Linked DNA regions of Homo sapiens: regions 1, 2 and 4 are each linked to region 3. Evidence: promoter capture Hi-C in 16 types of primary human blood cells and fetal thymus (Javierre and others, 2016). All regions are on one chromosome and are shown on one strand. Each heading gives the region's core, a stretch centred on a gene start or on the middle of the fragment in contact. The rest is flanking DNA. Distances are from core to core; before and after follow the strand shown.

Evidence for each region. The method cuts DNA at HindIII sites, captures the fragments that hold promoters and counts their contacts. A CHiCAGO score of 5 or more calls a contact.
Region 1: a contact is called between a fragment that was not itself captured here and the fragment with the promoter of SYCE3 in region 3, in 1 of 17 cell types (naive B cells). The highest score is 5.1, in naive B cells.
Region 2: a fragment that was not itself captured here is called in contact with the fragment with the promoter of SYCE3 in region 3 in 1 of 17 cell types (endothelial precursors); the score reaches 5.5 in endothelial precursors.
Region 4: a fragment that was not itself captured here is called in contact with the fragment with the promoter of SYCE3 in region 3 in 1 of 17 cell types (endothelial precursors); the score reaches 5.4 in endothelial precursors.

What each region holds. Positions count from the first base shown.
Region 1 is chr22:50,350,892-50,353,721 of GRCh38, reverse strand. The region is part of intron 1 of PPP6R2 (protein phosphatase 6 regulatory subunit 2); the gene reads right to left. Among named protein-coding and RNA genes, the nearest start is that of PPP6R2, 9.0 kb to the right of the region's middle. The HindIII fragment of the contact is 1,805 bases long and covers 476-2,280 here.
Region 2 is chr22:50,713,872-50,716,850 of GRCh38, reverse strand. SHANK3 (SH3 and multiple ankyrin repeat domains 3) reads right to left here. Exons shown (of 25, transcript NM_001372044.2): 22 at 1,804-1,934; 23 at 1,098-1,182. Among named protein-coding and RNA genes, the nearest start is that of ACR, 23 kb to the left of the region's middle. The HindIII fragment of the contact is 2,578 bases long and covers 285-2,862 here.
Region 3 is chr22:50,561,420-50,564,665 of GRCh38, reverse strand. SYCE3 (synaptonemal complex central element protein 3) reads left to right here and starts at 1,747. Exons shown (of 3, transcript NM_001123225.3): 1 at 1,747-1,808. It overlaps LOC107985568 (a long non-coding RNA gene), which reads right to left and starts at 1,705. Exons shown (of 2, transcript XR_001755606.3): 1 at 1,099-1,705. RefSeq lists silencers at 1,646-2,055, 3,126-3,246. The HindIII fragment of the contact is 5,765 bases long and covers 1-3,246 here.
Region 4 is chr22:50,733,104-50,736,020 of GRCh38, reverse strand. LOC105373100 (a long non-coding RNA gene) reads left to right here. Exons shown (of 2, transcript NR_134637.1): 2 at 1-192. It overlaps SHANK3 (SH3 and multiple ankyrin repeat domains 3), which reads right to left. Exons shown (of 25, transcript NM_001372044.2): 25 at 2,809-2,917. Among named protein-coding and RNA genes, the nearest start is that of ACR, 3.6 kb to the left of the region's middle. The HindIII fragment of the contact is 2,544 bases long and covers 71-2,614 here.

The DNA of each region.
Region 1 (2,830 bases), core at 129-2,628, 210 kb after region 3:
CAACACAGGCGTACTTTGTCTAACGTGCTTCCCTTCATTGTGCTTCGCAGGTAATGTGCTTTCTACAAATTAAAGGCTGGTAGCAACCTTGCGTCAAGCACGTCGAGGGGTGCCATTTTTCCAACAGCATGTGCTTACTTCGTGTCTCTGTGTTGCATTCTGGTAATTCTCACAATATTTCAAACTCTTTCATTATTATTTTATCTGTTATGGTGACCTGTTATCGGTGATGTTTGATGTTACTATTTTAATTGTTTTGGGAAACTACAAACCGTGCCCATATAGGATAGCAAACTTAATAAACGCTGCGTAAGTTCTGACCGGCCATTTCCCTGAGTCTCTCCCCCTCTCCTCAGGGCTCCCTACTCCCTGAGACACAACAGTAATAACGTAATAACGTTAGGTCAATTAATCCTGTAGGAAAGGAAGAGTCACATGTCTCTCATTTCGATCAAAAGCTAGAAATGCTTAAGCTTAGTGAAGAAGGCATGTCAAAAGCCGACAGGCCAAAAGCTAGCCCTCCTGCACCAGTTTGCCAAGTTGTGAATGCCAAAGAAAGGTTCTTGAGGGAAATTAAAACTGCTACTCCAGTGAAGACATAAATAATAATAAAGCAAAGCAGCTTTATTGCTGACACGGAGAAGGCTGCTTTCTGTTTGGAGGCAGGTCTTACTCTGTTGCCCAGGCTGGAATGTAGTGGCACCATCACAGCTCACTGCAGCTCTGACGTCCCAGATTCAAGCCATCCTCCTACCTCAGCCTCCCCAGTAGCTGGGACTATAGGCATGCACCACCACATTCAGCTAAACTTTTATTTTGTAGCGATGAGGTTTCACTGTATTACTCAGGTTGGTCTCAAACTCCCGAGCTCAAGCGATCCTCCCCACTCAGCCTCCCAAAGTGCTGGGATTAGAGGTGTGCGCAACCGTGCCTAGCCTGCAGAAAGTTACGTTGTTGTTGTTTTGTGTGTTTTTTTTTTTTGTTTTTGTTTTTGTTTTGAGACAGAGTCTCGCTCTGTCACCAGGCTGGAGTGCAGTGGCGTGATCTTGGCTCACTGCAACTTCCACCTCCTTGGTTCAAGCAATTCTTGTGCTTCAGCCTCCCGAGTAGCTGGGACTACAGGCACGCACCACCATACCCAGCAAATTTTTGTATTTTTAGTAGAGATGGGGTTTCACCATGTTGGCCAGGATGGTCTCCTCCTGACCTCGTGATCCACCTGCCTCAGCCTCACAAAGTGCTGGGATTACAGGGGTCAGACACCGCACCCAATGCCTGCAGAAAGTTTTAATGGTTTGGAGAGAAGACGAAACCAGACTTAAATAGTCTACAGTAAGGCCCTCACTCTTTTCAGTTCTACAAAGGATGACAGAGATGACGAAGCTGCAGAAGAAAAACTGGAAGCTAGCGGAGGTTGTTTCATGAGGTTTAAGAAGCCACCTCCATAACATACTAAAGTGCAAGGTGAAACAGCAAATGCCGGCCGGGCGCGATGGCTCTTGCCTGTAATCCCAGCACTTTGGGAGGCCGAGGCGGAAGGATCACTTGAGGTCAGGAGTTCAAGACCAGCCTGGCCAACATGGTGAAACCCCGTCTCTACTAAAAAATACAAAAATTAGCTGGGTGTGGCCGGGTGCGGTGGCTCACGCCTGTAATCCCAGCACTTTGGGAGGCCGAGGCAGGCGGATCATGAGGTCAGGAGATGGAGACCATCCTGGCTAACACGATGAAACCCCGTCTCTACTAAAAAATACAAAAAAATTAGCTGGGCATGGTGGTGTGCACCTGTAGTCCCAGCTGCTGGGGAGGCTGAGGCAGGAGAATGGCATGAACCTGGGAGGCAGAGCTTGCAGTGAGCCGAGATCGCGCCACTGCACTCCAGACTGGGTGACAGAGCAAGACTCCGTTTCAAAAAAAAAAATTAGCTGGGTATGGCGGCGGCTACCTGTAATCCCAGCTACTCAAGAGGCTGAGGCAGGAGAATCACTTGAACACGGGAACCAGAGGTTGCGGTGAGCTGAGATGGCACCACTGCACTCCAGCCTGGGTGACAGAGGGAGACTCCATTTCAAAACAAAAAACAAAAAACAAAAACAAAACAGCAAATGCTGATATAGAAGTTGTCGCTAGATCTGGAAGATCCAGCTAGGACAATTGATGAAGGAGGCTATGGCAAACAACAGATTTTTCAATACAGATGAAACAGTCTTCTATTGGAAGAAGGTGCCATCTAGGATTTTCATAGCTAGACAGGGTAAGTCAACGCCTGGCTTCAAAGCTTGAGTGCACAGGCTGACTCGCTAATGCAGCTGGTGACTTTTAAATTGAATGCTCATTTATCATTCTGAAAATCCTAGGACCCTTAAGAATTATGCTAAATCAGGCCGAGCGCGGTGGCTCACTCCTGTAATCCCAGCACTTTGGGAGGCCAAGGCGGGCGGATCACTTGAGGTCAGGAGTTTGAGACCAGCCTGGCCAACATGGTGAAACACCATCTCTACTAAAAATACAAAATTAGCTGGGCGCAATGGCACATGCCTGTAATCCCAGCCACTAGGGAGGCTGAGGCAGGAGAATCACTTGAACCTGGGAGGCTTAGGTTGCGGTGAGCCAAGATTGCGCCATTGCACTCCAGCCTGGGCAACAAGAGTGAAACTCTGTCTCAAAAAAAAAAAAAAAAAAAAAAAAAAAAAAACACTGTTGAGACCTACTGCTCAGAAAAAAAAGATTCCTTTCAAAATATTACTGCTCATTGACCATGCATCTAGTCACCCAAGAGCTCTGATTAAGATGTACAAGGAGACTAATGTTGTCATGCCTGCTAACATAC
Region 2 (2,979 bases), core at 324-2,823, 150 kb before region 3:
CAGGTGTGTGGGTGGACAGATGCACAGGTGGGCAGGGGACGGGAGAGTGGATGTCTGGAGGGATGCACAGTGGGCAGGGCTTGTTACATGTCCCCATCTGGGTCAGGAAAGGAGACGGTGAGTGTGGAGTGTGATGGTGGCTGGGGAGTGGTGAGGCACAGAGGGGAAGGAGGCTGAAGACACAGCCTTGAAAAGGTCCCATATTTGGGAGGCTGGGGCGGCAGGGTTGAAATAGGTGCCATCTGAGAAAGGAGGGGAAAACCAGTAAGTGTTGTCCTAAAGCTTTGGGGAGGAGCGTTTCACGGAAGAAGGAGCAAAGAAACCAAATGCCAGCTGAGGTCAGCAGGAGTGCTGGCCATGCATCCATGGGGAGGAAGGCCCTGGAGGCCGCCGGTGACCCTGGTGGGAGCAGTTTCAATTTGGGTATGGAGAGAGGAAGTCTGCCGCAGGCTGAGGAGCCGGTGGGGGACGGGAGACAAGATGGACAGTAGAGGTGACTTTTTGGGGAAAACTGGCTGTGAAGGGGGGAGACAGCAATACATGGAGAAGTAGGGGAGAGGCAAGTTCAGGGGGTTTGAGGGTCAGAAACTTCACATGCACTTGGGCTGCAAGGGAGCAACCGCGATGGAGGCAGCTGAGCTGGGGACAGGGATGAGGCTGCCCATGGGAAGGATGAGAGGTGATGGGGAGGTGGGGGTGCCCAGTGGACAGGGAGTGGCAGCTGGGGACAGGGATGAGGCTGCCCATGGGAGGGATGAGAGGTGATGGGGAGGTGGGGGTGCCCAGTGGACAGGGAGTGGCAGCTGGGGACAGGGATGAGACTGCCCATGGGAGGGATGAGGCGATGGGGGGCGGTGCCCACTGGACAGGGAGTGTCGGCTGCCGGGGGAAAGCTCTGGGTTGGGGAAGGCCTAATCCCCACATGTCCATCAACGTATGAGATCCTTTAGCTGGGGCCAGGAAGAGACAGGACTGAGAGGGAAACTGGAAACCCCAGTTATGGGCAGAGAGAGGCAGTGTCCTTCAAACCCAAGTCCACCCTGCCGGCCCCAGCCCCGTTCCTCCCCACCCCATGCAGCCCCACAGCGCAGCCATACCTACAGACTTGGTCCGTGGAATCCCCTTCCGCAAGGAGCCCGGCAGCTTCTCTGGGCCTGGGAGGCCCTGGCGTTCAAACAATGACTGTGGGGGTCAGGGAGGGGAATATGGAGGTTCCAGGGCACTGGGGGCCCCCAGTCCTCCTCCTAAGCCAGAGGTGAGACACCCCACGCTCTCACTCCAATGGCACTAGTGCCTGTGGGTGCCTGGACCCAGGAATCACGTCTGGACTCTGCCCTCAGGGAGCAGAGGATGCAGCCCATTGGAGCCTGGGCTGTGTGGGCAGTGCAGATGGTGGTACAGTGTAGACGGTGTTGGGCAGGGTGGGTGCAGACCCTGGCCGACCCTGGGTGAGGGTGGGGGAGGAGCCTAGAAGGCGCCGGGTTGGCAAGTGGGCAGGGAACAGAGACATGCTTTGTCGTGTTCTCAGCGGAGCTGGGGTACCTTGGTGGTCTCAGGCGTGAGACAGGGACTGCCTGAAGGCAGAGGCACCAAAAGCTACAAGAGCAAACCCAGCAGGTGCTGAGCTGTGGCCATTTAGGGGGCAGAGACAGCCCCAAGAGTCTCTGAGAGAGGCCATGGGGTGCACACACCCCTCTGGAGAGGGGTCCACATGATAGGCTCTCACCTCCGTCAAGAGGGCCCAGGACAGTCTGACCCCCATGCCTGCCCGACCCAGCGCTCCCAGCCGCCCGTGGCCCTTACGCTAATCTCGGCGGGTGTGATCCTCCGACTGGTGGGCCTCTGTTTGACGGTGGCGGCTCTGGAGTCTGCGTCTGCGATGTCTGGCCGCAGCGTTGGCTCTGCGGCGGCTGCCAGCATCTCGTCCAGCTTCTCTGCACAGCAAGGAGGCTCCATCTCAGCTGCCTGGGCCACCTCCTGCCCCACTGCCATGTCCTCCCCAACCCGGCCACCCGTGATGCTGACAGAGGCCACCGCTCCCCTCCCTCCTTGAGCTCCCACCCCAGGCTCCCAAGACAAGGCCCTCACCCCAGAACTCAGACCCCACCCCAGGCAGCCTCTCTAGCCTCAAGGAGACTCCAGGTGACCCTGTGGACCTCACTTAAGGAAAGGCCACTCTGACCATGAGGGAGAAGACCAGGGCACAGGACAGACAAACGATTCAGAGACCACAGTCTCCCTGGATTTCCCTCCATTTCCCTTCGTCCTGTCACTGTTCTCAGCACATACAGGCCACTCTTGGCTATCTGTACCGCACTGGAAGGGAAGCTGTTCACAGCGGGTCACAGCCCGAGGACAGACCCTGATGTACAAGCAGGTTTCCACAGAAGATCAAAGTGACTTGGAAACTGTTAAACTAATACGTGTATCTCAGGACCATCAGAGCCCTGGTTGGATGGCTCCCCCAGGACATAAGCAGCTCTCGCCCCCTGTGGGTCCACTGAGGACCAGTGCGTGCAGCATGCAGCAAGGGCTGGGGCAGCACTCATGTCCACCTGGCTGCTGCACCGGCCCTCTCATTCAGCAGCCCCACTGCACCCCACCCATCACTCAGGCTGCACCCAACCCCAAGCCCTTCTCCACTCTTTGGGGCTATGCCAACCCTAGAGGGACCACTGTCTGGCCACACTTGTCTTGGCACCTTTCACTCTTGTCTTGGCCCCTTGTTGGAGAATTTCAACGGTCAGACTGGACACCTCCTACTCCTTCCAACTCCAATCTGCAGCTGTTCACAGCACCTGCTGATTCTACCTCTGCAATCTGCTTAGCATTGCTGGAAGGAAGGAAGGAACTCCCCAAGCTTAGCATTGCTGGAAGGAAGGAACTCCCCAAGACTGTCCTGTACCCAACCCAGACCAGACCCACCCTGTACACTGACTCTGTCCTGACATAACCTCTTTGTGACCTCTGTGTCCTCAT
Region 3 (3,246 bases), core at 498-2,997:
TCAAGAGCCTGCACATTCCAGCTCAACTGATCTTTCCCGAGTCTTCTCTGTCCCTTACCAAGAACCCTGAGCCCAGAACACACTCGCCATTCCCCAAAGGAGGCAGGCTGAGCCACACCTTCGCCTTTGCCCTAGATGGGCCTTCTGCCTGGAATCCTGTGCCCTTTCTCCTACTCTCTCGGAAGCTGTCTTCCTTAGCCATCAGAATTATTCCTGATTCGGGCCAAGCACAGTGGCTCACACCTGTAATCCCAGCACTTTGGGAGTCCGAGGCGGGTGGATCACCTGAGGACAGGAGTTCGAGACCAGCCTGGCCAACATAGCGAAACCCGGTCTCTACTAAAAATACAAAAACTAGCTGGGCGTTGTGGCATGTGCTTGTAATCCCAGCTACTAGGGAGGCTGAGGCAGGAGAATCACTTGAACCTGGGAGGCGGAGGTTGCAGTGAGCCGAGATCGTGCCACTGCACTCCAGCCTGGGCAACAGAGCAAGACTCCGTCTCAAAAAAAAAAAAAAAGAATTATTCCCTATTCATGTTTCTCTGGGCTGCTGTAACAGAAATCGGCTCTGGGCTGTATAAGCAAATGGAAGTATGAAGAGCAGCTCACAGGTGGAAAGGGATGGCCAGAAAACCGGGTTCAACCGGGGCAGGAACCTGGCAGCTGGCGGAGGGAGTGTGGCCCAGGCAGCAGCCTCCTCAATAAACAAGCGAATGCTCACTCCTTGCCCAGAACTGTCTGGCTCAACCCCAGCCATTTTTCCTCCTCTGCAATCAGGCTGCTAAGAATCAGAATCCCTGAGAGAAAATTCAGGGGGTCTAAGGTTTGTCAGGATTCTCAAACACAAGGTGTTCAAAATCAAAGTTAACCTTCCAAGCTAGCTTCTCCCACTCTTCCACATCTCTGCCAGTGGTATCACCCCGGCCATTAGCCCCTTGCTTCTTTCTCCCTCCCTCCCACATTACCAAGCCCTGTCAAGTCGACCTTGGAATGGCTTTGACCCTGTCCACCACTCAGCCAAACAACAGCAACGGCCGGCCCCGTCGCCACCCGCCTCGGCAGCCAGAGACCTTTTAACTCTGCCACTCGCCTACTTACCACCCTTCTAGGGTGCCCACGTCCCTCTGAAAAAAAAGGCTGAGCTCAGACTGGCCTCTGGTCAGCCTCCTCCCAGCCAGAGCTTTCTGTCACTGCCCTTCTAGGTGTTGAGTGGCTCTGCTTCCAGTTCTTGCCTGGAGACCAGGAGCGCCCGGGAGGCCCCAGCACTTTCCAGCCCACATAGACCTGCGTGCACCTCTGCCTCGTCTCCCTGAGCCCGGGCTGCCTCCTCTGTAAGATACATGCCACATAATGTCCGCCACACATGATCGCTGTGACAGTGGAAATAGCTGGGCGTTCAGCGACTCATTCGACAAATGTTTACCAGCACCTTTGGTACCGGGCGCTGTCCTGGACACTGGGGACACAGCAGGCAAACGGGGCCCTGCGTATAAATCCTTAAGCTCAAGAAGGAGGTGGGGGCAAAACTGTCAGGCCGGGAAGCTCTTCATCTCCGCAGGATTCTCCCTCAACCTCAGGACGTCCCCAGCACCGCACCTGCCAGTCCCAGACTCGGACGCCGCAGACCTGTGGGAGCAGCGCGGAATGCCCCGCCCCTTTTCCCGAGGACACCCAATGAGGGCGAGAGGTCACTTCCGGGGAGGGTTCGCTAACGGAAAGGGCGGGGCATCCCTCTCGAGGAGCGGCCTTGTTCCTCAAGCGGCCGCTGGGGGCGCCAGAGCAGGACCGGAGCGCGGGCCAAGCTGGAGGTGAGCGAGGCCGCGCCCCCCTGGGCCCCGGCCCTCCCAACGCGCCCTGACGGCTGGGCTCCGCCTGACCCTGTCCTAGCGTTCGCGGTGGCACCAACCTCAAGCCAGACCCTTGACTTCGACCCAACTCCACTCACCCGACTCCACTCACTCCACACCCCATGCCCCTCCCCCGACGCCCCTCACCCCGCCTCACCCTTCACCCCTCATCGCTCACGTCACCGCTCACCCGCCTCCTCACCCAGCCTCGCCCCTCACCCCTCACCCCGCCTCACCCCTCACCCCGCCTCACCCCTCACCCCTCATCCCGCCTCACCCCTCACCCCTCATCCCGCCTCACCCCTCACCCCTCCTCACCCCGCCTCACCCGCCTCGCCCCTCACCCCTCACCCCTCCTCACCCCGCCTCACCCCTCACCCCTCACCCCGCCTCACCCCTCACCCCGCCTCACCCCTCACCCCGCCTCACCCTTCACCCCTCACCCCGCCTCACCCTTCACCCCTCACCCCGCCTCACCCCTCACCCCTCACCCCGCCTCACCCTTCACCCCTCACCCCGCCTCACCCTTCACCCCTCACCCCGCCTCACCCCTCCTTACCCCGCCTCACCCGCCTCGCCCCTCACCCCTCATCGCTCACGTCACCGTTCACCCGCCTCCTCACCCAGCCTCACCCCTCACCCCGCCTCACCCCTCACCCCGCCTCACCCCTCACCCCTCCTCACCCCGCCTCACCCCGCCTCACCCCTCCCCCGCTCCCCTCACTGCACACTCCATACCCCACTCTCCCCACCTTACATCCCTCACCTCAGTCCTTCACCCCCTTAACCTAATCTCCATGTCCTCACACCATACACTCCTGATCCTGAAGTCTGCACACCCTGGGCTTCTCATTCCGTGCAGCCTGCCCCTCTTACCCTCACACCTGCCACACCTGGGACCCCGGAGTCCACACACCACCTCACACCCCAAGTTCCCACACGCACCTCTGGCTTCCTCCACCTGCACTTCAGGACCCGCCCAGACTCTTCATAGCCCAACTCCAAGACTTCTCTCCCACATCACAGGTGCATTCCCTTCCTGTGCTGCTCTCATCCCGTACAAAAGAGCACATCTCTGCACCAAGCATCCCTCTTATCCCCTCACATTCCTTGTTCTCAGAGGGATCCCAGACTCTGTTAGAAACTCTTCGTACCAGGCAAGACACTCAGACCACAAACCAGACTCTAGGCTCTGACTCGCTCAACCCCCGTCCTTCACACCTAAAGTGATACCCAAGCCAGACCCTACACTCCCGCCCCACGCTCCCGCCCCACACTCCTCCCGCCCCACGCTCCTCCCGCCCCACACTTCCGCCACCCATCCTAAGCTCCGTTCCATTGTGCTTTGGTGCGGGCTCAGGCCTCTTTCTCCACCCGTTCCCAGTCATCCCAGGCAACC
Region 4 (2,917 bases), core at 93-2,592, 170 kb before region 3:
AAAAAAGTCTGAAGACCCAATGTCAGTGTCTGGATTCTAGAAGACCATTACAGTTTGACTCCGCAAAGCTTACCCACTTCTGATTCTAGAAGGGGCTGCCAGTCATCGTGCCTGCCCGTGGCTATAGTGATGGTTGCGGGAAAAGTACCTGGCCCGGCCCATTTAATTTTGTCATTAAACTAATGGAAGCAACAAACATCTCAACTCAGAGTGACTTTGTCTGACCTTCTTCATGCTGTTCTAAGAGCGAAGGAGAAATGGGTGACAGGTCTGGGGCCAGAGGGTGGGGTCCCATCCGAGGGCATGGCTCAGGCTGAGGCAGAGTGCTCAGCACAGGGGGCAGGATGGGGGCTCCCCATCTCCCCTCAAACTCCTCCCTGCTCTCTGCTTCCACCCTGACCCCCAGGCACCCCTCCAGCTCATCCCAGCCATTCTCGCTGCTCCTGCTCACCCCAACCACCCGCTGCCTTCGCCAGCCGTGCCCACTTCTGTCCCCATGCCTTATTTACCTGGGCAATCCAACTCCCACCCCAGTTTTTCTCACCCTGATCTCCAATCCCTTCCAGCCCCCAATCCCCTACTTTTCCATTCCTGTCCCCACCACCCTCCGTGAGGAGCAGAAACCTTATCCAACCATCCTCAATGTCCAGCCAGCCAGGAAGGCAAGAAGATCCCAGAGGGAGTAAGAATGGTTGACGCAGTGAAACCTTGAGGGCCGAAAAGGGGTAGGTTTCAGGTCTTCACCCAGGGGAAGCAGGTGCCTCGGGGGTGGTTTAAGCAAGCAGGTGAGGGTCTGGGTGGCGCCATGGAGAAGGACGAAGGCCCTTTGAGGCTATGGTTGATGACAGCTTGAAAACCAGCCTCAGGCTGGGCAAGGTGGCCCACACCTGTCATCGAAGCACTTTGAAAGGCTAAGGAGGGTGGAGTTCTAGACCAGCCTGGGCAGCAAAATGAGGCCCCCATCTCATAAAAAATAAAAAAAAAATTAGTCAGGTGTGATGGCCCACGCTTGCAGTCCCAGCTACTTGGGAGGCTGAGGCAGGAGGATCGCTCAATTCCAGGAGGTTGAGGCTACAGTGAGCCACGATCATGCCCCTGCACTCCAGCCTGGGTGACAGGGTGAGACCTTGTCTCAAAACAAAACAAAAGCAGCCTCCATGTCCTGGCCCTGCCCCAAAGTTGTCCACAGGTCTTGGGAGTGGCTGGGGGGTGCCAGCCCACAGGAAGAGCAGAGGCCACACAATTTCAAATTTTCAACATTTCCTAATCCTCATCTTATTTTCAGATTAGAAACTGAGGCCATCATAAGGAAAGGGCTGCACGGGAAGTCAAGGAGGGGGGCCCTGCAAGGGTCTGAGTGTGGGAGCAGGGGGCCCCTGACTCGCTCTGGGCCTGAGTGTGTGGAATCGGGAGGGTGGGTCTCCCTGGGCTGCACATGGAGCCCTAGGCCTCCATGGGGACTCAGAGTCTGGGGCTAGTGGCACTTCTCCACGGTGCCACCGGCCCCACCCCTGGCTAAGGTTAACCACAGAGCCAAGGTATGCGATTGTCATTCTGTCATATTCACGCGCCTCCTCAACCCAGTGTGTCCAGGCTCTGAAACCACTGCCCCTCCTGTAAGCAACCCTCCCCACCGGGGACGTCACATCTCTGCAGCCCCTGGCCTCAGTGCTGGGTCCTGTGCCCTCTACTTTCTCACGGCTCCCTCTTGATTGCCTTTGCCCACTTGCCTTACTGTTTGCCCTTCAAGACATAGCTCACCACCTCCTTCCACTCAGCGAGGGGTCTCTGTCCCTCCTGTTGGCTGGCCACCCCCACCAGGTGCCACCCAGGACGTGTCTTTTTTGCCACATTATCGGCTGCTCACATGACTGCCTGTGCGCTCCTGAAGGACAATGTCTTGTCTCTGGTGCTCAGGGTGGGAGCAAAAAGGAAACCTCACATCCAACTGGGCAGACAACCCAAGGTGAGAAGCACCAACTTGCTCTAATTTGAGATAGCACCAGGGCCGTGCAGACGCAGAGCCTAACATCTAACTGGGACTCCAGGGAGGGCGGGTCAGAGAAAACGTCCTGGAAGACAGGATCCGGAGATCAGCCTCCAAGCTATGTATGCTTGATGCAGGCAAACGATGGGTGATCCAGGCAGAAGGAAGAGGGCATGTGTGAGACAGAGCCCTGAAGCGTCATAGCGGCTCAGGGATTGCAGGAGGTGGGGGGAGACTGGCGAGCAGCATGTGTGCATGGGGAGGGAGCAGGGGATGCTGGCAGGGCCACGGCAGCACTGGCTGGGCCGGACTGGCTCACGGGGTCCATCCATCAGCTGCATTTACAGACAGGCTGGTGTTTGTCAGCAGAGGGCAGAAATGGAAACAGAAAACCAGTGAATCAGCAGGGAAGGAGTGAGGGCTAAATCTGGTCTGCAGCCGTGGGGTAGGACAGTTGCGAGAGATGCGAGCGGGTTCCAAGACAGGAGCAGCAGAATTTAAAAGCAACCGGACGCTGGCGGGAGCAAGTCTTAAACCCTAGGCTTAAAACCTGGCAGGGGTCATGGAGGACAAGTGGCCTCCAGCTTAGGAGGTGCTACTCAGTGGGTTGGTGAACAGAGAAAAGCTTTCGGTGCAGAAGGCATGGGCTGAGTTCCAGCAGACTCGGAGAAGATGCTGGAAGATGCCAGGTGCCTAGGCATGGAGGTCAAAGATAGGGATCTAGGAGTCACCCGTGCATGTGGTCCAGGCTGAGGAGGTTTGTGTGGCCGGTATGAGGGACAGACACAAATATCCCCTCAAGCAGGCAACTGAGCCATGGCTTCATTTCTTATAAATTTATTACATAATAATATTATAATAATTATTATCAATAATAATAATATAAGAAACATAGATCTCTGTGGGGCGTATCACAACGTCAGGGTCAGG